Regions from separate parts of the Homo sapiens genome. Here all the other regions are linked to region 2. Evidence: promoter capture Hi-C in human tissues and cell types (Jung and others, 2019). All regions are on one chromosome and are shown on one strand. The core of a region is centred on a gene start or on the middle of the fragment in contact, and the rest is flanking DNA. Distances in the headings are between cores, read along the strand shown.

Evidence for each region. Contacts are between HindIII fragments. The study calls those that stand out against the background at their distance.
Region 1: a fragment that was not itself captured here is called in contact with the fragment with the promoter of CABP1 in region 2 in 4 of the 25 tissues and cell types used here (aorta, dorsolateral prefrontal cortex, lymphoblastoid cells and 1 more).
Region 3: the fragment with the promoter of OASL here is called in contact with the fragment with the promoter of CABP1 in region 2 in 1 of the 25 tissues and cell types used here (neural progenitor cells).
Region 4: the fragment with the promoter of P2RX7 here is called in contact with the fragment with the promoter of CABP1 in region 2 in 5 of the 25 tissues and cell types used here (adrenal gland, bladder, dorsolateral prefrontal cortex and 2 more).
Region 5: a contact is called between a fragment that was not itself captured here and the fragment with the promoter of CABP1 in region 2, in 4 of the 25 tissues and cell types used here (H1 embryonic stem cells, adrenal gland, lymphoblastoid cells and 1 more).
Region 6: the fragment with the promoter of SPPL3 here is called in contact with the fragment with the promoter of CABP1 in region 2 in 3 of the 25 tissues and cell types used here (pancreas, small bowel and stomach).

What each region holds. Positions count from the first base shown.
Region 1 is chr12:120,932,956-120,936,962 of GRCh38, reverse strand. No RefSeq gene overlaps it. Among named protein-coding and RNA genes, the nearest start is that of XLOC_009911, 30 kb to the right of the region's middle. The HindIII fragment of the contact is 5,842 bases long and covers 1-4,007 here.
Region 2 is chr12:120,638,129-120,642,035 of GRCh38, reverse strand. CABP1 (calcium binding protein 1) reads right to left here and starts at 1,410. Exons shown (of 6, transcript NM_001033677.2): 1 at 697-1,410. The coding sequence starts at 1,350. CABP1-DT (CABP1 divergent transcript) reads left to right here and starts at 1,514. Exons shown (of 2, transcript NR_183426.1): 1 at 1,514-1,986. RefSeq lists silencers at 431-530, 751-920, 931-1,030, 1,251-1,550 and an enhancer at 3,022-3,523. The HindIII fragment of the contact is 37,846 bases long and covers 1-3,907 here.
Region 3 is chr12:121,037,181-121,041,079 of GRCh38, reverse strand. It overlaps OASL (2'-5'-oligoadenylate synthetase like), which reads left to right and starts at 1,834. Exons shown (of 6, transcript NM_003733.4): 1 at 1,834-2,306. The coding sequence starts at 2,109. RefSeq lists enhancers at 1,670-2,089, 1,669-2,168, 2,169-2,670. The HindIII fragment of the contact is 11,669 bases long and covers 1,762-3,899 here.
Region 4 is chr12:121,131,313-121,135,221 of GRCh38, reverse strand. P2RX7 (purinergic receptor P2X 7) reads right to left here and starts at 2,346. Exons shown (of 13, transcript NM_002562.6): 1 at 2,127-2,346. The coding sequence starts at 2,251. All of the region lies in intron 2 of LOC105370032 (a long non-coding RNA gene), which reads left to right. The HindIII fragment of the contact is 21,026 bases long and covers 1-3,909 here.
Region 5 is chr12:121,095,433-121,099,547 of GRCh38, reverse strand. No RefSeq gene overlaps it. Among named protein-coding and RNA genes, the nearest start is that of P2RX7, 35 kb to the left of the region's middle. The HindIII fragment of the contact is 6,899 bases long and covers 1-4,115 here.
Region 6 is chr12:120,902,647-120,906,867 of GRCh38, reverse strand. SPPL3 (signal peptide peptidase like 3) reads left to right here and starts at 2,510. Exons shown (of 11, transcript NM_139015.5): 1 at 2,510-3,023. The coding sequence starts at 3,001. It overlaps XLOC_009911 (a long non-coding RNA gene), which reads right to left and starts at 2,173. Exons shown (of 2, transcript NR_131215.1): 1 at 2,096-2,173. RefSeq lists silencers at 2,311-2,670, 2,751-2,970, 3,111-3,160. The HindIII fragment of the contact is 15,749 bases long and covers 173-4,221 here.

The DNA of each region.
Region 1 (4,007 bases), core at 987-3,486, 290 kb before region 2:
TCAGGAGTTCGAGACCAGCCTGACCAATATGGACAAACTCCATCTCTACTAAAAATACAACATTAGCCGGGTGTGATGGTGCATGCCTATAATCCCAGCTACTCGGGAGGCTGAGGCAGGAAAATTGCTTGAAGCTGGGAGGTGGAGGTTGCGGTGAGCTGAGATTGCACCATTGCACTCCAGCCTGGGCAACAAGCGCGAAACTCTGTCACAAAAAATAAATAAATAATTCACCAGCCTGGTGGTGCGTGCCTGTGATCCCAGCTACTCAGGAGGCTGAGACGCAGAGGTTGAGGCTGCAGTGAGCCGAGATCGCTCCACTGCACTCCAGCCTGGGCGACAGAGTGAGATGCTGTCTCAAAAAAAAAAAAAAAAGAGAGAGAGAGAGAGAGAGAAAGAAGGCCTCCCTGAACCCTGATTTTCCCTGGAGACCTGAAGGATGAAGAGGAGTTAAAGGCAGAAGGGAATAAGGAGCCGGAGAAGCATTCCAAGCAGAAGGCCGGCACTTGCAGAGGGAGGGAGGCAGGAAGGAGGATTGCTCATTTGAGGAACTGAGAGCCAGCCAGTGAAGAAGAAGTGGGGCTGGAGCTGGGGTGGAGATTGTGCTGGGTCTTCAACTTTATCCTCAGGGCACTGGGGAGCCACTGGTGGTTTAGAACACAGGAATGACATGACCTGACTTTCAAAGGACTCCTCTGGCTGCTGTGAGGAGGATGGACCCTGTGTGGGTTAAGGGCAGAGGCTGAGAGTCCAGTGAGGAGGTTAACGGTCTCATCCAGGCAAGCAGTAACCATGTTCACACAAAAACTTATATATGAAAGCTCATAGCAGCTTTATAGTAGTTCAAAAGTGGAAACAACCCAAATGTCCATCCACCGAGGGAACAGAATGTGGCCTATCTGTACAATAGAATCATTCTGACCATAACAAGCAATGCAGCTGGGCACAGTGGCTCATGCCTGTAATCCCAGCACTTTGGGAGGCCAATGTGGGTGGATCACTTGAGGCCAGGAGTTCAAGATCAGCCTGGCCAACCTGGTAAAATCTCATCTCTACTAAAAATACAAACATTAGCCGGGTGTGGTGGCACAGGCCTGTAATCCCAGCTACTCGGGAGGCTGAAGCATGAGAATTGCTTAAGCCTAGGAGGCGGAGGTTGCAGTGAGCTGAGATCGTGCCACTGCACTCCAGCCTGGGCAACAGAGCAAGAGTCTGTCTCAAAAAAAAAAAAAAAAAAAAAAAAAAAAAAGAGGAATGCAGTACTGACACACTGCAACATGGATGAACCTTGAAAACATTCTGCAGAGTGAAAGAAGCCAGACACAGAAGACTGTAAATCGTATGATTCCATTTATATGCAATGTCCAGAATAGGCATCTCCATAGAGATAGAAATTAGATTAGATGTTGACAAGGGCTTGAGGTTGGGGGTGGTGAGAGAATGGGGAATGACGGTGAATGGGTGTGGGGTTTCTTTGGGGAAGATAAAAATGGTTTGGAAGTAGATTATGAAAGTGGTTGGGCAAGTTGATAGCTACACTAAAAACCACTGAATTGCACACTTTAAAAGGGTGAATTTTATAGTTTGTGAACTATATCTCAATCAAAAAAGGAGGAGGAGAAGGAAGAAGAAAAGAAGAAGAGGCTGGGCACGGTGGCTCATGCCTGTAATCCTGGCACTTTGGGAGGCTGAGGCAGGCAGATCACTTGAGACCAAGAGTTCAAGACCAGCCTGGCCAACATAGTGAAACCCCATCTCTACTAAAAATATAAAAATGAGCCAGCTGTAGTGGTGCACACTTGTAATCCCAGCTACTTGGGAGGCTGAGGCAGAAGAATCACTTGAACCTGAGAAGCGGAGGTTGCAGTGAGCCGAGATCACACCACCGCACTCCAGCCTGAACAGAGCGAGACTTTGTCTCATAAATAAGTAAACAAATGAATAAATGTGAGTAACATCCTATATTAGTTTCCTACTGCTGCTGTAGAAATTACCACAAATATTGACTTTACACAAGCTTATTCTCATAGTTGCGGAGGTCATGAATCTGACATCGGTTTTATAGGGCTAGTTCCCTGTGAGGGCTCTGAGGGAAGAATGTGTCCTTGCCTTTTTCATCTTCTAGAGGACCACCTGCATTCCTTGGCTCACATTCCCTTCATCGATCACTACAACCTCTTGTTTCCATCGTCAAATCTGCTACCGCTCACTCTGGTGTGCCCACCTCTTCCAAGGACCTGTGTGATTATATTGGGCTAGATAATCCAGGATAATCTCCTCATCTCAAAAATATTAATTTGATGCATCTACAAAGTCTCCTTTCCTATAATCATAGGTTCTAGAGTTCTAGAGATTAGGACATGGACATCTTTTTTTTTTTTTTGAGACAGAGTTTTGCTCTTGTTGCGCAGGCTGGAGTGCAATGGCGCGATCTTGGCTCAACGCAACCTCCACCTCACGGGTTCAAGAAATTCTCCTGCCTCAGCTTCCTGAGTAGCTGGGATTACAGGCATGTGCCACCACGGCCAGCTGATTTTGTATTTTTAGTAGAGAGGGGGTTTCTCCATGTTGGTCAGGCTGGTCTTGAACTCCCAACCTCAGGTGATCCCGCCACCTTGGCTTCCCAAAGTGCTGGGATTACAGGTGTGAGCCTGCTCCCGGCAGGACCTGGACATCTTTTAGGGGTTATTATTCAGCCTACCACACACTTACCAGATTTAAAATTCTATGATGTACACTTACCTACAGTATCTCATTTAGATACTTATGAGGTGTTATCATTCCTATTTAATGAATGAGAACGCAGGTCTAGAAAGCTTCATTGCTTAGCCACAGTCATATAGTCAAAGAACTAGAAACTCAAACCGGAGTATATGGCCCTAGAGACCATGTAACAGCACTACACACCACTTCTCCTCCACCAGGCTGCCTGTAAATCACGGGCCTTTGGCCTCTCATTTTCTTGTACAACTCAAAAAAAAAAAAAAAGAAGAGGAAGAAGAAGAGGAAGAGGAGGAGGAGGAGGAGGAGTAGGCGGTGGCAGCGCCATGGCTCAAGCCTGTAATCCCAGCACTTTGGGAGGCCAAGGCAGGAGGATTGCTTGACCCCAGGGGTTTGAGACCAGCCTGGGCAACATGACGAGACTTTGTCTCTACTAAAAACAAAAACAAAAAAAACTTGGCTGGATGCAGTGGCACATGCCTGTAGTTCAACTAGTTGGGAGGCTGAGGCAAGAGGATTGCTTGAGCTCAGAAATTCAAGGCTGCAGTGAGCTATGATTGTACCACATCACTGCACTCCAGCCTGGGTGACAGAGCAAGACCCTGTCTCTCTGACAGAGGAGAGAGAGAGAAAGAGAGAGAGAGAAGGAATGAATTGACCTAAGAAGGAAAATGGCTGAATTCGGGATATATTTTGGATGTGGGTTACTTAGGGGACACAGTGGGGCAGGAATTGGTCCTATGTGAGTCCCTGCATCCCTCAAGTGTGCCACTGGAAGAAAAGCAGAAGGAGCAGCAAGTATGGAGCCCATGTCAGGGTGTCACCAGCTCCCCAGTGTGAGCCACTCACAGAACGCAAAGGCCATGCAGTGCTGGGATTCAGAAAGTATCAGATTTCAAGGCCTGTGTGTCCTTGGGTGAGTAGCTTGGCCTCTCTGGGCCTCTGGATGGACTGGGGGCAGCGAGTCTATAAAGCCCTGAGCTGCCTTTCCTGCATTCTCAGCACATTATTGGAACCTGAGTGCATCGTGACAGCCCGGTGTGCTGACAGCTGGCAGAGTCCACACGCCTCTTCTACGCGTGGCTTCAGTGTCCTCTCATAAACCTGACCCTGCCCGGTCAACCCCAGCTCTAAAAAGAACTGTCCAGCCCTAAGTTAGGACAGCATTTTCTCCTCTGTGACTTCACTTCCGTTGCACCCTTTTTTTTTTTTTTTTTTTGAGACAATCTTGCTCTGTTGCCTAGGCTGGAGTGCAGTGGCATGATCTCTGCTCACTGCAATCTCCA
Region 2 (3,907 bases), core at 161-2,660:
TCTTGAGGGAAAGGCCTGAGGGAACCACTGATGACCTCTTTGTGGCCTTTCTCACCCTTCCAATGGCATCCCTAGAGTGACAGCCTCCTTAAACCACCCCAAAGTTCCAGTTTGAGCCACAGCTCTGCATGCCCCTCCATGCCTACCCAGACACCTCTTCTCTTTCCTCATATTTTTGGATCTCCTAACTTTTCTCAGGCCTTCAGGGACATGATAGGCAGTGGCCAGTGTCCCTCGCCCTCAAGTAATTCTGTGTTCTCTGAGGTCCCCTCTCTTGACCCCCAGACTCCAAACCGCTTGCTCTCCTGAGTCCCTCCCTGGCGGTACTGGCCAGAGGCCAGAGGAGTGGGTTTGGCGCCACCTGCTCGGAGCGCCCCTCCTTGACCCCCGCAAATCTCCAGGACGGTCGTAGAGGTCGCTCTCTTCCAGGACTGGCGGGTTCTGGCGGGTATGAGGGAGGCTAGCGGGGAGGGCCTTGCCCCAAGAGGCCCGGAGCGTGGACAGCGCACGGGGTGCTGAATCAGGCACGGGGAGGAGGAGTGCCGGCAAGGGCGCCGGCCCGGGGAGGACGAGGTGAGCCGAGGCGTGATCCGTGGGGGACCACGGGCCGCGGGAGGAGGCTGTGGACGCGCAACCGCGGCCGGCAGGGTCCCGAGCGCCTTTCCCGGGAGCGCTGACGGGAGGCGCGGCCCTTACCTGGCCAAAGGCGGAGCTGAGCATGGGGCGCAGCCGGTGGAGGAACGGGTCCGCCTCGGACGCGGCGGCTGGAACGGAGTCCCCGCGGCCCCGGGCTCGCAGAGAGCCCCGGAGGCCGAGCGCCGGGGACAGTCCCCGTTCCTCCCCATCCCGCCCGCGGGCCGGCGGCAGCGGCGACGACGGCGAAGGTCGGGACGCCGCGGCCGGCAGCGCCTCCCGGGGCCTGCAGTGCGCCTGGGGGAGCACACGCTGGCTCCCCCGCGCGCCCTCCTCTCGCGGCGCCGGCCGGCACAGGGGCCTCCGCGAACTGGGGTCCCCGGACGACTGCGGCGTCGCCGGGCAGGAGCCGGGTAGCCGGCGGCTAGGCAGCCCCGGGTCCCGGGCAGGGCCGTGGCGGGGAGCCCGGCTGCCCCCGCTCGCCGCCGCCGCCGCCGCCTTCAGCAGCGACGTCTTGGACTCGCTTTTGGCGATGTGCGAGCTCATCGCGGCGGGGCCCGCGCTCGCATGGCCCGGCGGGGGCGGCGCGGTGCGGCGCGGCGCGGGGCCCCCGGCGGGCAGAGAACGGGGCTCCCGGCGGGAGCCAAGCCCGAGGACGCGCTGGAGGCGGGCGCCGTCCCCCGGCCGCTTAAATGCGGCCCCGTCGCCGCCGCCCATGTGACAGCGCAGCCTCTACGCCCGGAGCCCGGAGCTCCCGGCGGCTGGCGGTGCAGATCTGGGGGCGCTGCCGGCTGTCCCCGGAGAGCCCACCCCCGGCTCCCTGGCGGCCCAGGTACCGCCGCGCCCCGCCCCTTGCCCCGCCCCGCCCTGGGGGAGCCCCGCTTCCGGGCGGCCCCTGGCGGCGAAGGGGACGCTGCAACGCGGAGCGGGAGCACGAGGAGGGAAGGGGCTTGGCAATGGGCCCCAAAGAGGCCGAGACCCCGGGAGTGCCGGCAGCGCTCTTTATCACGCCTGGAGGCTCCTGCAGAGCCCCGGAACCGCCCGAACCTCCAGAAATGCAGGCAGGGTGCACTCCCCAGGGGGTACAACTTTGGCAATGAGGACTACAGAGGTCCGGGGAGAACCGGAGACCCGAGGAGCATGAAGGCACTCTGTGACATCACTGCCTACAAACGCAGGGGCCGGAATGCAGTGACAGGACACTGCTGGGAGGAAAGTCTCCCAGCGCCTCCGTGTGGGGCTGCCTCCACTCCCAATACCGTGCGGGGGGACTAGGACGACCCTGGTAAGTCAGCCACAGGATATCAGTTCTCAGAATAGAAGAGAAGCCAGGTCTGGCAGCACCTGATGATGGTAAGTCTCAGGTAGGACCCATTTGCTCCCCCTCCAGCTCTTGTCCCCTCTTTCACCTTCCTGCCTTTCTAGATGCTACAGAAATTCCTGCTCTCGGTGGGCAGCCAGGGAGCGTCCCAGGCCTTATCTGAATCTCAAATCCCAGCTCTGCCACCTACCATCTGGGTAACTTGGGCAGGTGTCATCAACCTCTCTGAGCCTTGTTCTCCTCTTCTGTAAAATGCAGATGATAAGCATAACTAATTTCTTGGTAACAGCAGACGATACTATGCACACAAAAGGCCTAGCCCAGTGCTCGGACAGGGGACCATCCAGTTAAGCCAGTTCCCTTCCCCCTGCACATCGTGAGGCCCCATCTACCATTCTTCTTTAGTATCCGGTGCTTGAGCTTTGCGGGGGGCTGGAGGGGTTCCTCCCAGGCTCTCCCTGTTCTGGTCCCTGGCCCCAATGCCATCCACAGTCTTGTCACCGCTCGGCCTCATTAAAAGGATACACGAGGCCGGGCACAGTGGCTCGCACCTGTAATCCCAGCACTTTGGGAGGCCAAGACCGGCGGATCACTTGAGGTCAGGAGTTCGAGACCAGCCTGGCCAACATGGTGAAACCCTGTCTCTACTAAAAATACAAAAATTAGCCAGGCGTGGTGGTGGGCGCCTGTAATCCCAGCCACTTGTAGGCATGAGAATAACTTGAACCCGGGAAGTGAAAGTTGCAGTGAGCCGAGATTGGGTCACTACACTCCAGCCTGGGCAACAGAGTGAGACCCTGTCTCAAAAAAAAAAAAAAAAAAAAAAAAAAAGAAGGGTACACAAACAGATTGCCGATATTACACTTCACTCATGCCAAGAGTTCATCCTTCTCTGCACTGTCTGCTTCTTTACAGAGTGTTGCTCTGTCACCAGGCTGGAGTGCAGTGGCACGATCTCGGCTCACTGCAACCTCTGCCCCCCAGGTTCAAGCGATTCTCCTGCCTCAGCCTCCCGAGTAGCTGGGATTACAGGCACCCGCCACCACACCCAGCTAATTTTTTGTATTTTTAGTAGAGATGGGGTCTCACCATGTTAGCCAGGATGGTCTCGATCTCCTGACCTCATGATCTGCCCGCCTTGGCCTCCCAAAATGCTGGGATTACAGGCGTGAGCCACCGCGCTGGGCCCTGTGTGCCTCTTTTACTTATCCATAGGCAAGGAATTAAGGAAAATGGATGGGCTGGGAAAGCAACTGCCCAGAGGCTAAAGTAAACTAGGAAAGTGTGGCAAATTGTTCCCCAGATCAGCTACCCTTAAGGGACTGAATTGCCATATCAAAGCCACTCAGGTTCCTAAAGCCCAAATCCTGAAGCAGCCTGGGGCGTTGCAGCCCTGAAGGCTCATTGCAGGGTCCTCTGGGATATGCAGGGTGTAATGAGTCCACCCTTTGAGTTCGAGGTCAGTCAATGTCTTACCTGCTCCAGCCCTCAGAATAATCAGTGTTTGGCAGGATTAAAAACAAAGGCACATTCAATATAAATCACAGGAGATAAAGAACCTTATCAGAAACCCTCAGGAGCCAATGAGAGGCAGAGGACTGCTGGGTATTCTAAATCCCTGCTGTGCCACTGTTGGTAACCTTTCTGAAATGCCCTAAATATTTTTGGGCAAGACCTCGGTCACCAACTAGTTTTTGAAAAACTGAAGAATCTGATTATGTTACCTATGATTACTAGAGTAAATAAATAAAAATTATGTCCATGAAGCAAATGGATGAAACACCTTCACTCATATCCCAGATAATCCTGGATGTATGCCAGGATTCCATTTCATTTGTAAAGTGTATTAATTTGGTCACTTATTTGACAAATATGTATCCAACCAGGCACTGCAGTAGTCATCTTGGATACAAAGATTGATCCATTCATTCAACAAATAATTGAGTGCCTGTT
Region 3 (3,899 bases), core at 585-3,084, 400 kb before region 2:
GTCTCATGCTGTCACCCAGGCTGGAGTGCAGTGGCACCATGATAGTTCACTGCAGCCTGAAACTCCTAGACTCAAGTGGTCCTCCCACCTCAGCCTCCCAAGTAGCTGGGGCTACAGGTGGACACCACCACACCTAGCTATTTTTTAAAAAACTTTTTGTTTTTAAAACAAAAACTGGAGTTTTAAACTCCAGGCCACCACTGCCTCTCACCTGCACCACTGTGCAGTGTCCTGACCATCTCCCTACATCTGTTCTTGCCCTTGCAATCATCCTCACCACAGAAGCAGAGAAGTTACAAGTGTGGCAAAGGGCAGACCGGAATTCAAAGCCAATGTGGAGTGGGGAGTTGGATACATGAGTCTGGATTTCAGGGAAGAGGTATGGATTTAAGATACAAATGTGGGAGTCACTGGGTATGGTGGCTCACGCCTGTAATCCCAGCACTTTGGGAGGCCGAGGAGGGCAGATCAGGAGTTCAAGACCAGCCTGGGCAACATGGTGAAACACTGTCCCTACTAAAAATACAAAAAGTTAGCCAGGCGCGGTGGCGGGCTCCTGTAATCCCAGCTCCTTGGGAGGCTGAGGCACAAGAATCGCCTGAACCTGGGAGGCAGAGGTTGCAGTGAGCCGAGATTGTGTCACTGAACTCCAGCCTGGGCGAGACAGTGAGACTCCATCTCAAAAATAAACAAATAAATAAAAATAAAATTAAAATGTGGAAGTTGCCAGAGTAAAAACATTTAAACGCTGGCTGAAATCACCAAGGGAGTAAGTCTAGAACAAGAAGAGAAAAGGACCCAGGACTAAGCCCTGGAGCACTTAATATTATTCAGAGTTTGGGAAGTTGCAGGTGTCCAGCTATGTTGCCCAGGCTGGTCTTGAACTCCTGGCCTCAAGTGATCCTCTCACCTTGGCCTCCCAAAGTGCTGGGACTACAAGCATGAGCCACCATGCCCAGCCCGGATCCCCAGTCTTTAAGATTCCTCTCAAGCAGGTGTCTGCTAACACCAAATGAAACTCATCTGCCGGCTTCATGTTTTCATGCTTTTTTCCTACTTAACTCATCGCACTGGACTTTTGCAGTCTCTTTTTTCTGTGTCTCCTCCACCGTTCTGGGAGTCCCCTTGGAACAGGAACCTCATCTTATTTTGTCTTCTTGGCTCAATGCATGAACTTCTTGGTTCAGTGCGTGAATCATAATACCTGTTAAACCCACTCTATGGGCCGGGCGCGGTGGCTCACGCTGTAATCCTAGCACTGTGGGAGGCCGAGGTGGGCGGATCATTTGAGGTCAGGAGTTTGAGACCAGCCTGACCAAAATGGTGAGACCCCCGTCTCTACTAAAAATACAAAAAAAAAATTAGCCGGGCGTGGTGGCACATGTCTGTAGTCCCAGCTACTAGGGAGGCTGAGGCAGGAGAATCGCTTGAACCCGTGAGGCAGAGGTTGTAGTGAGCTGAGATTGCACCACTGCACTCCAGCCTGGGCAACAGAGCAAGACCCGGCCAAAAAAAAAAAAAAACAAAAAAACAAAAAAACCCACTCTATGAATAGTGAGGGTCAAAGAGGTTAGAGTCTGGCACAGGTAGACTAGAATTCCCAGTCTGTTCTCTTGGGCTCCAGATTCTCACTCCACCACCTGAACACTAGTGAGTCCCTTCCGTTCCCAAGCCTCAATTTCCTTAGACAGATGTAAGCAGTTGAATTGACTAACAACTATCCAACCCCAACCTACTGGGCAAGTTGCCTCCTTTGGGGTCAAACACTATCCAACTTCAGTTTCCCAACGTCATAAAGGAGAACTCTAAAAGTTGAGAATCGAAACTGATGACAGATTGACTAGACGGCCAGCCTGTTAAGGTGGCCCCAGATATTCCAGCCTCAGCCCAGAGTCCTCCTGTGCCCCTACTGCAGCAAGGGTGTCTCCAAGAAGGGGGACCTGGAGTCAGCCCGTCACACCTGGTTTCCTCTCTGCTAGGGTCCCTCCTCCCACAGAGCACTGGAGGGCAGCTGAGGAGGAGCTACCTTAAAAAAGGAGGTGTGTGCCAGGGAGCTGGGTAGGAGCCTGGCTATATATCTGCCCAGCAGCGGTACTCTCGGGACAGAGATGGCACTGATGCAGGAACTGTATAGCACACCAGCCTCCAGGCTGGACTCCTTCGTGGCTCAGTGGCTGCAGCCCCACCGGGAGTGGAAGGAAGAGGTGCTAGACGCTGTGCGGACCGTGGAGGAGTTTCTGAGGCAGGAGCATTTCCAGGGGAAGCGTGGGCTGGACCAGGATGTGCGGGTGCTGAAGGTAGTCAAGGTAAGACTGGGCTCCTCCAGCCCCCACGCAAGACAAAACCCAGTATCAGAGTCCACGTCCCTGGGGATGCTGGGGACCCCTGTCCTCCTTATCCCTAGCCCATGCTGATGACATCTCAGAATACCCCATCCCACCTAGCTGTCTACACCCCACTGCACCACTGCCTTGAGTAGAATGAGTCTAGTAATAATAGCTCACATTTGGGGGCTCACTGGACTAACCTCTTAACATACACTATCTCTAATTCTTGCACTCTGTGAGATAGGTACTATTCTTTGCCCAGTTTACAGATTAGCAAATGGAGGCTCAGAACCAATACAATGCGAGGTCCTTGGTTGGATCCTAGTGTGAATGAACCATCTGTAAAATATAGTTTGGGGACAACTGGCCTAGATATCAGATAGTACATATATCTGATATGGGAAATCATTGTTGATTTTGTTAGGTGTAACAGTAGTTTTGTGGTTATCAGAAGGTTGTCTTTTGTTTGGACACGAACACTGAAGTATTTTAGGGACAAAGTTCCTTGGTGCCTATAATTTACTTTAACGTGGCTTAGATTAAGCACATGTAGCCAGGAATTTAGACTTGTTGAATCAACTAGTTGGGTATATGAGTGTTAGTTGTATCATCTATTTTTCTATGTGTTTTAACTTTTTGATAATAAAATGACTTTTTTTTTTTTTAGAGACAGGGTCTCGCTCTGTCACCCAGGCTGGAGTGCAGTGGCACAATCACCACTCACTGTAGCCTCAATCTCCCTGAGCTCAGGTGATCCTCAGCCTCCTAAATAGCTTGGGATTACAGGCATGCACCACCATGCTCAGCTAATTTTTGTATTTTTTGTAGAGATAGGGTTTCACCAATGTTGCCCATGCTGGTCTCGAACTCCTGGGATCAAGAATATGCCCACCTTGGCCTCCCAAAGTGCTGGGATTACAGGTGTGAGCCACCATGTCTGGCCGGCCAATAAAATGATTTTTGTTTTTGTTTTTTTTTTTTTGAGACAGAGTCTTGCTCTGTCACCAGGCTGGAGTGCAGTGGCACGATCTCAGCTCACTGCAACCTCTGCCTCCCAGGTTCAAGCAATTCCCCTGCCTCAGCCTCCCAAGTAGCTGGGACGACAGCGCCCACCACCACGCCCGGCTAATTTTTTGTATTTTAGTAGAGACAGGGTTTCACCGTGTTGGCTAGGATGGTCTCGATCTCCTGACCTCATGATCTGCCCTCCTCGGCCTCCCAAAGTGCTGGGATTACAGTGAGCCACTGCACTCGGCCTAAAATGATTTTTTAATGGAGGCTCAGAGAGGTGAGGTGACTTGCCCAAGGTCACACAGTGTTGAAGCTGGGATTTGAACTTGACTCAAGGGACCCAAGCCCCCCTCACTGAGATTTTCCCCCAAGCCCTTCCTCCAGCTGTTTCATGCCACCGCCTGTGCTAGCTAAGATCAAAATTCAAGAGGGTCGGAGCTAGAAAGACTTTGGAGAATCAGACAGTCTCACCAATGACTCACTTAAAAAATTAAGTAAACCGAGGCACAGAGAGGGTGAGAGATACCCCAAGGTCACACAGCGAGTTGGTGGCAAAGGCAA
Region 4 (3,909 bases), core at 1,097-3,596, 490 kb before region 2:
GATTACAGGTGTGCACCACCACTCCCCACTAATTTTTGTATTTTTAGTAGAGATGGGGTTTCACCATATTGGCCAGGCTGGTCTCAAACTCCTGACTTCGTGATCCACCCGCCTTGGCCTCCCAAAGTGTTGGGATTACAGGTGTGAGCCACCACTCCCAGACTTAAAAAGATTATTTTTAAAAATAGATACTAGTTATGGAGCTCTTATCCTATGTCAGTCATCATGATAAGGGCTGTTCATGCCTTTTTTTTTTGGTTAATTGCCACAACCCTATGAACAGATGCAGAAACTGAGGCTCAGAGAAGTTAATGACTTGGCCCAGAAGACATAGCCAGTACTATGAAATAAGTTACCCTAACTCTTAGTAAACTACACTGCCACTCTATAGATACAAATTGCCTTCATCATCATTATCAATCAGCACAGAGAATAAGAGGCACTCACCATCAGGGAAATTCAAATCACAACCACAATGAACTACCACTTCACACCCACTAGCATGGCTATAATAAAAAAGACAGACAATCAGCCGGGCGTGGCGGCTCATGCCTGTAATCCCAGCACTTTGGGAGGCCAAGGTGGGCGGATCACTTGAGGTCAGGAGTTTGAGACCAGCCTGGCCTACATGGCGAAACCTCATCTCTACTAAAAATACAAAAATTAGTGAGGAGTGGTGACGCACACCTGTAATCCCAGCTACTCATGAGGCTGAGGCAGGAGAATCGCTTGAACCGGGGAGGTGGAGGTTGCAGTGAGCCAAGATTGCGCCACTGCACTCCAGCCTGGGCAACAGAGCAAGACTTCATCTCAAAGACAAAAACAAAATGACAACAACAAAACCCAAAAAGACAGACGATAACAAGCGTTGGTGAGGATGTGGAGAAATTGGATCCCTCATACTCTGCTGATAGGAATGTAAAAAACTGCAGCTGCTGTGAAATTCAGCTCCACATTCCCCCCAAAGGTGAAACATAGTTAACATATGACCTAGCAATTTTTACTCTTAGGTACATATTCGAGAGAAAGGAGAATATATATCCACATAAAACCTTGTACACAAATGTTCATGTGGCATTATTCATGATAGCCAAAAAAGAGAAACAACCCCAATGTCCATCAATGGATGAATGGATAGAAAAAAGTGGTCTATCCATGCAATGGAGTACTACTCAGCCGTAAAAAGGAATGAAGTATCAGCCGGGTGCAATGGCTCACGCCTGTAATCCTGACACTTTGGGAGGCCGAGGCAGGCAGATCACTTGAGTCCAGGAGTTTGAGACCAGCCTGGACAAAATAGTGAGACCCCGTCTCTTTAAAAAAAAAAATTGAATGAAGTATCAACACATGCTACAACATGGATGAGCATTGAAAACACGCTAAGTGCCACAAAGGACCACATATTATGTGATTCCATTTATATGAAATGTCCAGAATCGGCAAATCCATAGAGGCAGAAAGGAAATTGATGGGTGGGAAGGAGGAGGAACAGTGTTGGAAATGATGGTGAAGGAGTGTGGGATTCCTTTTGAGTCGATTAAAATATTCTAAAATTGATTGTGGGGATGGTTGCACAACTCTGGGAATAATCTGAAAATCATTAAATGGTACCCTTTAAATGGGTCAATTGTATGGTGTATAAATTATATCTCAGTAAGTTTCTTTTAGAAGAAACAAAAACCAAAAAGCAGGGCCTTCCTGACGTTGGTGAGGACCTAAAGTTATAACACATTTTCAAGCCTGGTCCTATTCCTCCCAAGCATGGTGACTCAGATGCCAGCATGATCACCAGGCGTGCCCTGAGATCCTCGCCTCCTCCCTGGGGATCCAGGGTGTTGCCCTGCGCTTTCCTACCTTCCCCAGGCACGCCCTGCCCTGCGCGCCCTGGCGGGCCTGAAGTAGAGCAGAAAGGAATCCCGCTTGTCCTGTGGCTTCTCTCTGCTGCAGCCTGGCACCGTTTCCTCTTGCCTGCTGCTGCTTCCTCCCTCCCGCCCAGCTGGCTGTGAGAGCACGTCTCAGATTCGAAAACCATGTGAGATTCAGAATGTGCACCTGAAGCTGCCCGCTGGGGCTTTCTGTGCTGTCGGCCACTGCAGAGATCTGGGTCCTCCCCAGATCCCACTTACCAAACGTAGGAAAAGATGATCACGTGGAAGAACCACTTAATGGTGCCATAATTCATGCTCTGGATCCGAGTGACTTTGTTCGTCTCATACTGGAAAACATCACTGCAGCTGCAGCAGGCCGGCATGGTGACAGCCTCCCTCCCTGCGCGGAGCTGGACCAGAGCTCTACTCTTCCTGACAGGGCCACAGCAAGCCCCCTCCCAGTAACTGCAAAATGAAACGTACTGGTTTTTAGCAGGAGTCTTTAACTTCAAGCTCCTCCAATGACTGCAGAGTTGGGGCGGGCCCTGGCAGTGGCCCCACATGTGGCTGTGATAAACAAGAAGCGCCAAGTCCTACGGGCCTGGCTGGCAGATGACCTCACCCCAGCTGGCCTCCCCCAGATGCCTACACAAAGATGGTGTTCAGAGGATGGGCATTTTTAGAATTCTCCCTTTTCCCCCCTTTCCTTTCACTTTTTTGGTCTCATGTCTCTTGGGAGAAAGGGGCAGCCTTGCAAATGTCACAAGACTGGGAGCTTCCATTATGCCTCAGAAAAGGACTGAGATCTTTCCATTGCCTGAAGCCCCACTCAGAGATTGATTCATTCATTTCTACAACCCTTTATTCAGCCCCTGATGTATAGGAGCTCTGGGTAAATGAAGATCTCCCCCTCTTCTTCCACCGCCCCTTATAATACTCTGGTCTGCAGTTGGTGGGGGAAATCAGATTTGCAGGGGTAGGGGTGGTGGGGGTGGAGGGGCTTTATTTTTCTGCCAGATCTTTCATGCTTGACCCTCTGAGTTACTCTCCACCCTCCTCTGCACCCCGGCAGGTCGATCTATGACCTAGACCAATCAGCCAAAGATCACCAGGGACACAGTGGCAGTCCAACAAAGTTAGGTTTGTTGACCTATTCAGTGAGGGACACCACCCACCAGAAGAGCTACGCACATCACCAAACAAAGGAAAACAGCAATTTATTATAGGATTCCGAGGAAAGTGGAGTTGAGATAAAATCTAAATGAAGTCATGTTTTGATGGACTCAAAGCAAAACAGGTTTGTACAAAGCAGTCAACTTCAGTCTGGATTGCAAAGAGGACCCAGGGCCCTGTTTCCTAGGAAGCAACATAGCTAAGATACATGTCAAATGTGTCCAGAAAATCTTTATCTGAAGCTCTGCTCCTGAGTTGTAAATTGAGGCTGCTTCTCTGTGTCAAGATGACTTAAATCTTCCAGGCAAAATTGGAATATTTCAGTCTTAGTCATGTAATTTCAAACAGCAAAGTTTCTGAAGGTCTCTGATTTTAAAGGACAATGTTTCAGCAGTCACTCAAAGATGCAGGGTTGTATTATCACTTTACAGCTACAGAGAATTATTGTTCCCTGTTATCTTTACAGCTGGCTTGATCCCTTTCTGTTATTCCAGCCTGCTAAGTGGCCGGGTAGATTTTCAGTTTTTCAGTCTAAACTAATTGTACTTTCTCACACATACAAACTGCATCAGGGTTCCCCTCACCTTCTGGCTTCCAGTTCAGGAGACTGGAGAGCAGTGAGGATGGACGTGACTCCCTGGCCCTGCCCTTCTCAGTTGCATATAGGCAGGGCTTCTGGGCACCACTCCCTCCTTTAGTCCTGGGAGTGGTAAGGGCTCCCCACTCTTACCAGCCCCAGGAAGCTCACTATCTCCTATTGCTTTTTCTTAACTCTGTCCACACCTTTGTAAATGGTTCCATCATTAGTTACCCCACTTGAGTATGCCATTGCTTTCCTGCCGGGAATCTGAGTGATACGGTCATCTTC
Region 5 (4,115 bases), core at 1,193-3,692, 460 kb before region 2:
TGAGCAACAAAATTCTCTCTCCCAGGGTATATTATCTATTTTGCACCAAACTTTCAAAATATTATTATTATTTGAGATGTAGTTTCGCTCTTGTTGCCCAGGCTGGAGTGCAATGGCACGATCTTGGCTCACCGCAACCTCTGCCTCCTGGGTTCAAGTGATTCTCCTGCCTCAGCCTCCTGAGTGCCACCATGCCCAGCTAATTTTGTATTTTTAGTAGAGATGGGGTTTCTCCATGTTGGTCAGGCTGGTCTCAAACTCCCAACCTCAGGTGATCTGCCTACCTCGGCCTCCCAAAGTGCTGGGATTACAGGTGTGAGCCACTGCACCTAGCCCAAAATAGTCTTTTTCTTTTGCAATAAATTACTCTATGTTGCATCTCCTTTGCTGTGAGTCTGTTTAAATTTTCTTAAACTAAGAAGACAAGAACTGAGGTCTTGCATCAGCCATCAACAATCATGGTGAATGGTCTTTTTGATGTGCTGTTAGATTCAGTTTGCTAGTATCTTGTTGAGGATTTTGGCTCTATGTTCATCGGGAATATTGGCCTGTAGTTTTCTTTTTTTTGTTGTTGTGTTCTTGTCTGGTTTGGGTATCAGGGTAATGGTGGCCTTGTAAAGTGAGTTTGGAAGTGTTCCCTCCTCTTTAGTTTTTTGGAAGAGTTTGAGTAGGATTGGTAATGGTTCTTCTTTAAATGTGTAGTAGAGTTCAGTAGTAAGCAAAACAGCATGTGCCTTCGGCTCCTGGAGCAGAGGATCCCTGTCTCTCAGTGCACGCACCATGCCTGGCATGGAACTGGCCTCGGACTCCACTTGCAGCCTTAATAACTCCATTCTTTGGATTTTGCTGTCTTATATTTGCCTTTCGTAGAAGGCTGAGAAGTAAAAAAGAAAAATACCACTGGACTCACCTTCATGAACTAGTTTCAAAAACTTTCTGCTCACAGAGTAAAAACACTTCATATTTAGATCAAGGAAATGAATTAAACCTAATCAGTTTAAAATCACCCTCACTAGACCACACTTTTTTCTTTTGAGATGGAGTCTCTGTCGCCCAAGCTGGAGTGCAGTGGCGCGATCACTGCAACCTTCACCTCCCAGGCTCAAGCTATTCTCCCGCCTCAGCCTCCAGAGTAGTTGGGACTACAGGCGTACACCACCACAATCTATTTTTGTATTTTTAATAGAGATGGAGTTTCACCATGTTGGCCATGCCGGTCTCAAACTCCTGACCTCAGGTGATCCACCCACCTCAGCCTCCCAAAGTGTTGGGATTACAGGCCTGAGCCACTGCACCCGGCCTACAACAACTGCTTTGAAAGGGCTTTTTCTCTATGATTAGGAAGATCCATGTTTAGAAGCTTGGTAAATAAATCCAAAACCTCTTCCCAGACAATGAATTGACCCTTCGATGTCCTATGTTTTTTTTTTTTTTTTACCTTTGCTAGTCACTGTATCAAAAGTAAAAAATATTTTTATAATCTTACTATTTTTCTTACATCACAACTTACATAAAATGAGATGCACTTCTTTTTAAAAAGTTTTCAAAAGCATTTTGTTGTGGTTTTAGATGATTAATAGGTGATCAGTTTGAAGAGTGAGAATGAAAAAACCAGCACATGTGGGGGAAGGCTGGGGAAGGGATTTGATTATATATTTAAGTGACTGAATTCAGTTCTCTCTCATTTCCTGGACAATAGTTCTGTTTTTTTCAGATTATTCTGATCATTTCAAATTAAAGCGAAGACACATGATCAGTTCTCAAGTCCTATGTTCTCATTAGGAAAAATAGAAAAACATGCAACTCTAGCTGAATATGGTGGAAAATATTTTGTTAGAGGTCCTTTCATAGGGCCTTTGTCCAGATGTTTGGACCGAGGCCCCCGAGGGCATGGAGAGCCAGCCTGAAGGACAGCGTAGGGTGTGCCTGCAGGGAAGGTCGTAGCTCACCAGTGACAGAAGAGGCAGACTCCCCTTCTTCCAGGCCTTGGTCTTCTACATCCTAGCTCAGTGGTCATTTATTTGTCAGGCCCTTCATTTTACTGATTTAATAACGTGTTTAAGGCAGGGTGCGGTGGCTCACGCCTGTAATCCCAGCACTTTGGGAGGCCGAGGTGGGTGGATCATCTGAGGTCAGGAGTTCGAGACCAGCCTGACCAACATGGAGAAACCCATCTCTACTAAAAAAAAAAAAAAAAAAAAAAAATACCCCGACGTGGTGGCGCATGCCTGTAATCCCAGCTACTTGGGAGGCTGAGGCAAGAGAATAACTTGAACCCATGAGGTGGAGGTTGCAGTGAGCTGAGATCATGCCATTGCACTCGAGCCTGGGCAACAAGAGTGAAATTCCGACTCAATAATAATAATAATAATAATAATAATAATAACAACAATAATAATAATGTGTTTAAATAATTTATCTCATATCTCTGCACCTTCACTCCATTTCTTTTCAAAGAAACAGAGAAAAACAAAAACAAAATGTCATAGTTCTGGGCCGGGCACGGTGGCTCACACCTGTAATCCCAGCACTTCGGAAGGCTGAGGTGGGTGGGTCATTTGAGGTCAGGAGTTTGAGACCAGCCTGGCCAACACGGTGAAACTCCACCTCTACTAAAAATGCAAAAATTAGCCGTGCGTGGTGGTGGGCATCTGTAGTTCCAGCTGCTTGGGAGGCTGAGGCAGGAGAATCGCTGAGGGAGCCCGGGAGGTGGAGGTTGCAGTGAGCTGAGATTGTGCCACTGCACTCCAGCCTGGGCAACAGAGCAAGACTCTGTCTAAAAAAAAAAAAATAAAAGTCACAGTTCTACTTGACCCAGCAGCAGGCTTTAAAACCAGAGGCTTTAATTCTCCCAATTTCCTCATTTGTCAAAATGCAGAAGCCAATCTAAGTAAATCACCTAGAACGGCAGCAAGCTACGTAAGTTCGGGGCTGAAATGTGATATTTCTTCTGAATCTCTCTTTTCTTACAACATCAGAGAAATGGGTAATAAATAGCACCAAACCCAGGGGCTCCACATTTATTCCTCTTTCCGGAGGAAATAAATTCTAGCCACCATATTTCTCAATAGGAACCGATATGTAAGGAGAATGAATTTATTCATTCATGAGTCATGTATTCAATCCTGATAAAAATACTTTATTCTGGTCTTCAATAGCAAATATGACCGGAGAGCCAGAGGGTCAGTGGTCCTGCTCTGAGCTGTGCAGGTGGGGCTGTCTCTGGGTAGTGGGAGGGTCGGGTGGGTGTTTCTGACCTGGGCGTCTTTGCCCAGAGGAGCAGAAGTGAACACACGCCCTCCCACTGGGCTCTTCTGCTGACGTGGGTTGGTAGGACGGTTATGGCTCAGCTTAGGGTCCGCAGCTGGGCAATGAGGAGACTGGAGGGGCCTTTCTCAGGTAGTGGCGTCTGGTAATCAGCAGATGGCGCCCGAGGTCGCTGGGCCCGCCCCGCGTGCGGGTCTTTCTGGTTGACTCCCCAGGCTCTTGCGTGGGAACTCACCACTGAGCACTGAACGCAGTTCCTCAGTCCGAGACCTCCTCACTCTCGCAGGACGCACAGTTGCACACACAAGTCCCTCACCTGTCACGACCCACGCTCTTACATACTCTCCCACTCCCACCCACACCCCCTCTCTCAGATGTGTGATCCAGGATTTCCTCTCCACCCACAGCCGCAGACGCCCCCACGGTTCGTGCAAATGTGCACACTCGGTGCAGCAGATCCCCGCCTCCTGCACACGTGCGCGTTTTTCCAGCCTCGCACTTTATCTCACACGTTTTCTCACCCAGAGACCCCATTTCAGACACACACACCCTCTCAGCCTTTTCTCTTGCCTCCCAACCCCTTAAAACGGAAATCCTTTATTTCCTCCGGAATTTGCTCACTTCGTGAAATGCCGGTCTGTCTTCTGGCGGATCCTATAGGGCAGCCCTTTCCTGCCCCTTGGTTCCAACAGCCCCTTTCATGCCAGTTTTTGTCACGTGCCTCTTACCATGCTGAAGTGAAATTGACCCAGCCATCACACAATGCCCTAACTCAGGGGTCTGCAAACAATGGCCCCAGAAAGCTGTTTGTTTTCCCCCAGCTTTATCTGAATATGCTTGAAAAGTAA
Region 6 (4,221 bases), core at 1,261-3,760, 260 kb before region 2:
TTAAATTAAAAAAATTTTTTAAAAAAGAATTTAGCCCCTTTGCCTTCTCATCTCCCCTTAATATCCCTGCATCTGGTGGGTTTATGGCTGGACAGATCTTTGCAGGCCAGTGTCTTCTTGTGAATAGTGAGACTAAGGGTCCCTGGTGATTTGATATTTTCTTGTTGCCCTGCCTCAAACCCTCCCCTGGACCTCGATCTTTTTTTTTTTTTTTTTTTTTTGAGACGGAGTCTCACTCTGTCGCCAGGCTGGAGTGCAGTGGCGTGATCTAGGTCCACTGCAACCTCCACTCCCCGGTTCAAGCGATTCTACTGCCTCAGGCCTCCCAAGTAGCTGGGACTATAGGCATGGGTCACCACGTCCAGCGAATGTTTGTATTTTTAGTAGAGATGGGGTTTCACCATGTTGGCCAGGATAGTCACGACCTCTTGACCTCATGATCCACCTGCCTTGGCCTCCCAAAGTGCTGGGATTACAGGCGTGAGCCATCGCGCCCGGCCTGGACCTCAATCTCATCAGTGAGCCTTTTCCCAGGGCTCTCTGATAGAGCTTTGGAGGAAACACTTGGAACCTAACTGGTCCTGGCACCTGGCAGTGGGGGAATAAGGAAGGAGAGCTTTGCTTCTGAAGGGAAAGTGTACTTGGCTTTCTCTTTAAAGGGTTTCCCTTGGGGAACAGGCAAGCGGCAGATGTATGGGCAATGGCCAACTGATCCATTTGGAGATAGATTCAGGGTGTGGTGTTCCCTGTAAGCCTGGGCAGGCCCTGGGAAACTGGAGCAGAGCTAAATTCTGGCCTAAAGTTGGGCAAGCTGCAGAGAAGCTTGAGTACGTTGGTTTCAGGTGTGTGAGTTTTGCCTTCTGCAGAGAAACAGGGGGGTGAAGGGTGGGGGTGGAGGGGTGTCCAGGAGGGTTAGTGTATCTGTTGCCCAGGCATGTTTCTAAATTCTGAAGCTGCACTGGTTAATCATTTTTATTCATGAACACAGTAACTGGCAAGGAGGCTTAGCTGGGCCCTCAAAGTCTGGCCTCAGTGCACCTTCTCAGTATATTTTCTCAACACTCCAGCACAAATCACCCATCCCACTCTCGGATTCAAGCTCACCAGGAATTGGGCCTTACTTCATGCCATTCTTTCTTTCTAGAATGCCTTTTCTTTTTTTTTTTTCTTTTTCTTTTTCTTTTTCTTTTTTTTTTTTTGAGACAGAGTCTCGCTGTTGCCCAGGCTGGAGTGCAGTGGCGCAATCTCGGCTCACTGCAAGCTCTGCCTCCGGGGTTCACGCCATTCTCCTGCCTCAACCTCCTGAGTAGCTGGGATTACAGGCGTCCACCACCACGCCCGGCTAATTTTTTGTATTTTTAGTAGAGACAGGGTTTCACCGTGTTAACCAGGATGGTCCCGATCTCCTGACCTCATGATCCACCCACCTCGGCCTCCCAAAGTGCTGGGACTACAGGCGTGAGCCACCGCGCCCGGCCAAAAGAATGACTTTTCTTTGATAAGCCTCTCACCCTTTCAGACGGCCTCATCCACTCCTGGGGAAGCATTCCGCAGTACCTGGGGCCTCAATTAATCTCTCTCTTCTCTCTCCATCTAAGCTCCAGATTCACTTTGTTGGTCTCTGGTCTAGCTCTACCGTGTTTATTTCTGTGCCGGTTTCCAGACCTCCAAATGGACGGTTTCCTGAGCCTTCTGCCCTTGCTGTTCCCTCTGCCAGGAACTCTTTTCCTGTGGATCTTTGCAAGGCCAGCTCTCTGTCATCATTCAATATCAGCTCAAATGTCACCTCCTAAGCGAGGCCTTCCTTGACCACCCTATCTAAAGTAACCCACACCTCTGCTCACTCTCTGTCCCCTCACCTTGTGTTACAAAATGTGTTTTTGTAAAACTTAGCAGCATCTGAAATTATCTTATTTGTGGGCTTGGACTATGTCTCTTCCTTTAGAATGTAAGCTCTAGGAAGGCAGAGTGAGTTGACACATGGTTGGCACCCAACAAATATCTGTTGATTGATTCTGTGAAGGCAAGCGTGGGGTATTCGACTTGGTGCCGGGCCTGGGCGCAATAAAGGTTGGCTGCCTGGAATATTTGCTACCTGAATGAATGAACCAAGGAACATACGAACGAAGGAATGCAGCCCTCTGCCTGTTGACTGACAGGTTGACTGACAGTTGGGGGGCCCGTGGCCAGCAGACTGTTGACTGACGGTTGACAGCTGAGTGGCAGCCAACAGACGCGCATCGGGGTTCCCGATTGGCTGGTGCAGCAGCCCCTCGGAGAGGGGCGGAAGAGGGTACCCGAGGCGACATCTCCGCGTGGGGAGGGGGGCGGCACCAGGCAGCGGGAGGCGGCCCAACTGCTCTGGCTGTGCGAGCAGCAGCCGCCTAGAACCCAGGAGCCGACGTCTCTGCGCATGGGCCCGGCTCGAGGGGCGGGGCGCGCATCACGTGAGCGTGTTTTGGGCACGTGACCCGCGCGGGGCCAAGGCTCGCCCCCGCCCCCGCCCCTCCTCCCCTCGGCGGGTGTGATCGAGTGGCCTCGCCTCATCGCCTAGCGCCCCCCTCAGTCGCCGCCGCCTCCGCCCGCCGGCCATGTCCCCCGGCCGCCGCCGCCGCCGCCCGAGCGCGGCGCTCCCGCGGCCCCGCGCGCAGTGAGCGCGGGCCCGTCTTGCCGTTCGCCCGCCCCAGGGCCCCCTTGTTCTCCGCGCCGCCGCCGCCGCCATGTTGGGTTTGGAGCTGCAGCGGAGCCGCCGCCGCCGCCGCGGGTGAGGGAGGCCGAGAGCGGAGCCCGCCCCGCCCCGGGGCCCAGGGAGCGGGGCCGCTTCGGAGCCCGGCCTCTCCCCGCCAGCCGCCTTCCCGGCCCGCCGTGCAGCCAGCGAGCCAGCGAGCGAGCAAGCAAGCAAGCACCGGACCCCGGCCGCGCCTTCAGCTACGGCCCGAGCGAGCCCGCCGCCGCCGGGCCCGGCCACAGCCTGCAGCGGAGCCCACGAGAGGCAGCGCCATGGCGGAGCAGACCTACTCGTGGTGAGTGCGGGGCTCCGGGAGGCCGGGAGGCGGCAAGGGTGGGGGTCGGGGCGCCGGCGCGGCCCGCCGAGGGGAAGAGGAGGAAGAACAGGTGCGTGTCGTGGGGGGGGGGCGCGGGTTGGGGTGCACGCCCCCCTCTTCCCCACCGGAGGGGGCGGCTGGCGCGCACGGAGGGCGGTGAGTGGCCGGGGACCTGGCGTCCGAGAAGGGGAATGGAGGAGGAGGCAGCGGCGGATGTCATCTGGCTATGGGCGGAGCAGGTGATGGAGAAGGGGAGCATGACCCCGGGGGTGGGAATCCCACGGATGGGAAGTTGAATCCGACAGGCACCCCGGAACTGACTCGTGGGGGTGTTTCCTGGGCAGGAGGACTCGAAGGGGTGGAGAGAGGCAGGCCAGGGCAAAGGTGGGCCGCTGGGCTGAGAGGAAGCTCTAGTGAGAACAGGTGATAGAGGCAGAACTTCTAAGTTGGGAGAGTGGAGCGGCCGCCGCTTGGCTCTGGGACAGGGAGCGCAGGGAGAGTTGGTGAGGTGGGCAGAGGCCCGGGAGTGAGGGGAGGAAAACTGCGGGGGTAGAGTCCACGAACCTTGGAGGGGAGTCACTGGTGAAGAGGTTGGAAGAGGAGCCTGAAGAACCTGTTTCCTTTTCCTTCTGGAAAAGGAATTCGTTGGTGACAGTGGGGCATGGGCAGAGTCTTTGTAAGGGTTGGTACTATTATTTTCAGAGGAATGGCGCCCAGGGCCAAGTGTGGAGGTGGAGGACCTGCAAGTTAAGTTCATTTCTGTGGGGCTTTTAAAGTTAGTAAGTAGCTCGTTAAGGGCCGAGAAGCGAGAAGCTACTGTGTAGTTTATGGGGTGACAACCTACATATCCGGAGAAGGGAGTGCCAGGGTTTGGGGGAAGGAACATGAGGGGTCTCCCTTTAGCATGTAGAGGTGGGATATTTGCAGGACGGGTTGAAGGAATGATGGCAGTATCCATGAAGAGTGGAAATCGGGTAGTGAGAAGGAAGTCATAGCTGGAGAGTGAGGAAGCAAGAAATGGCATGATCGTAGGAGTGGGGGACCTGATTGCAATTTAGAGAAATGGTTTGAAGATGGTTTACTCTTGAAGCAAATGTGGTTTGGGACAGAACTGTAGACATTCCCTTCTTAGAAAAGAGCATAATAGAATGGGACGAGCATGCCGTGTGGAGTTGGA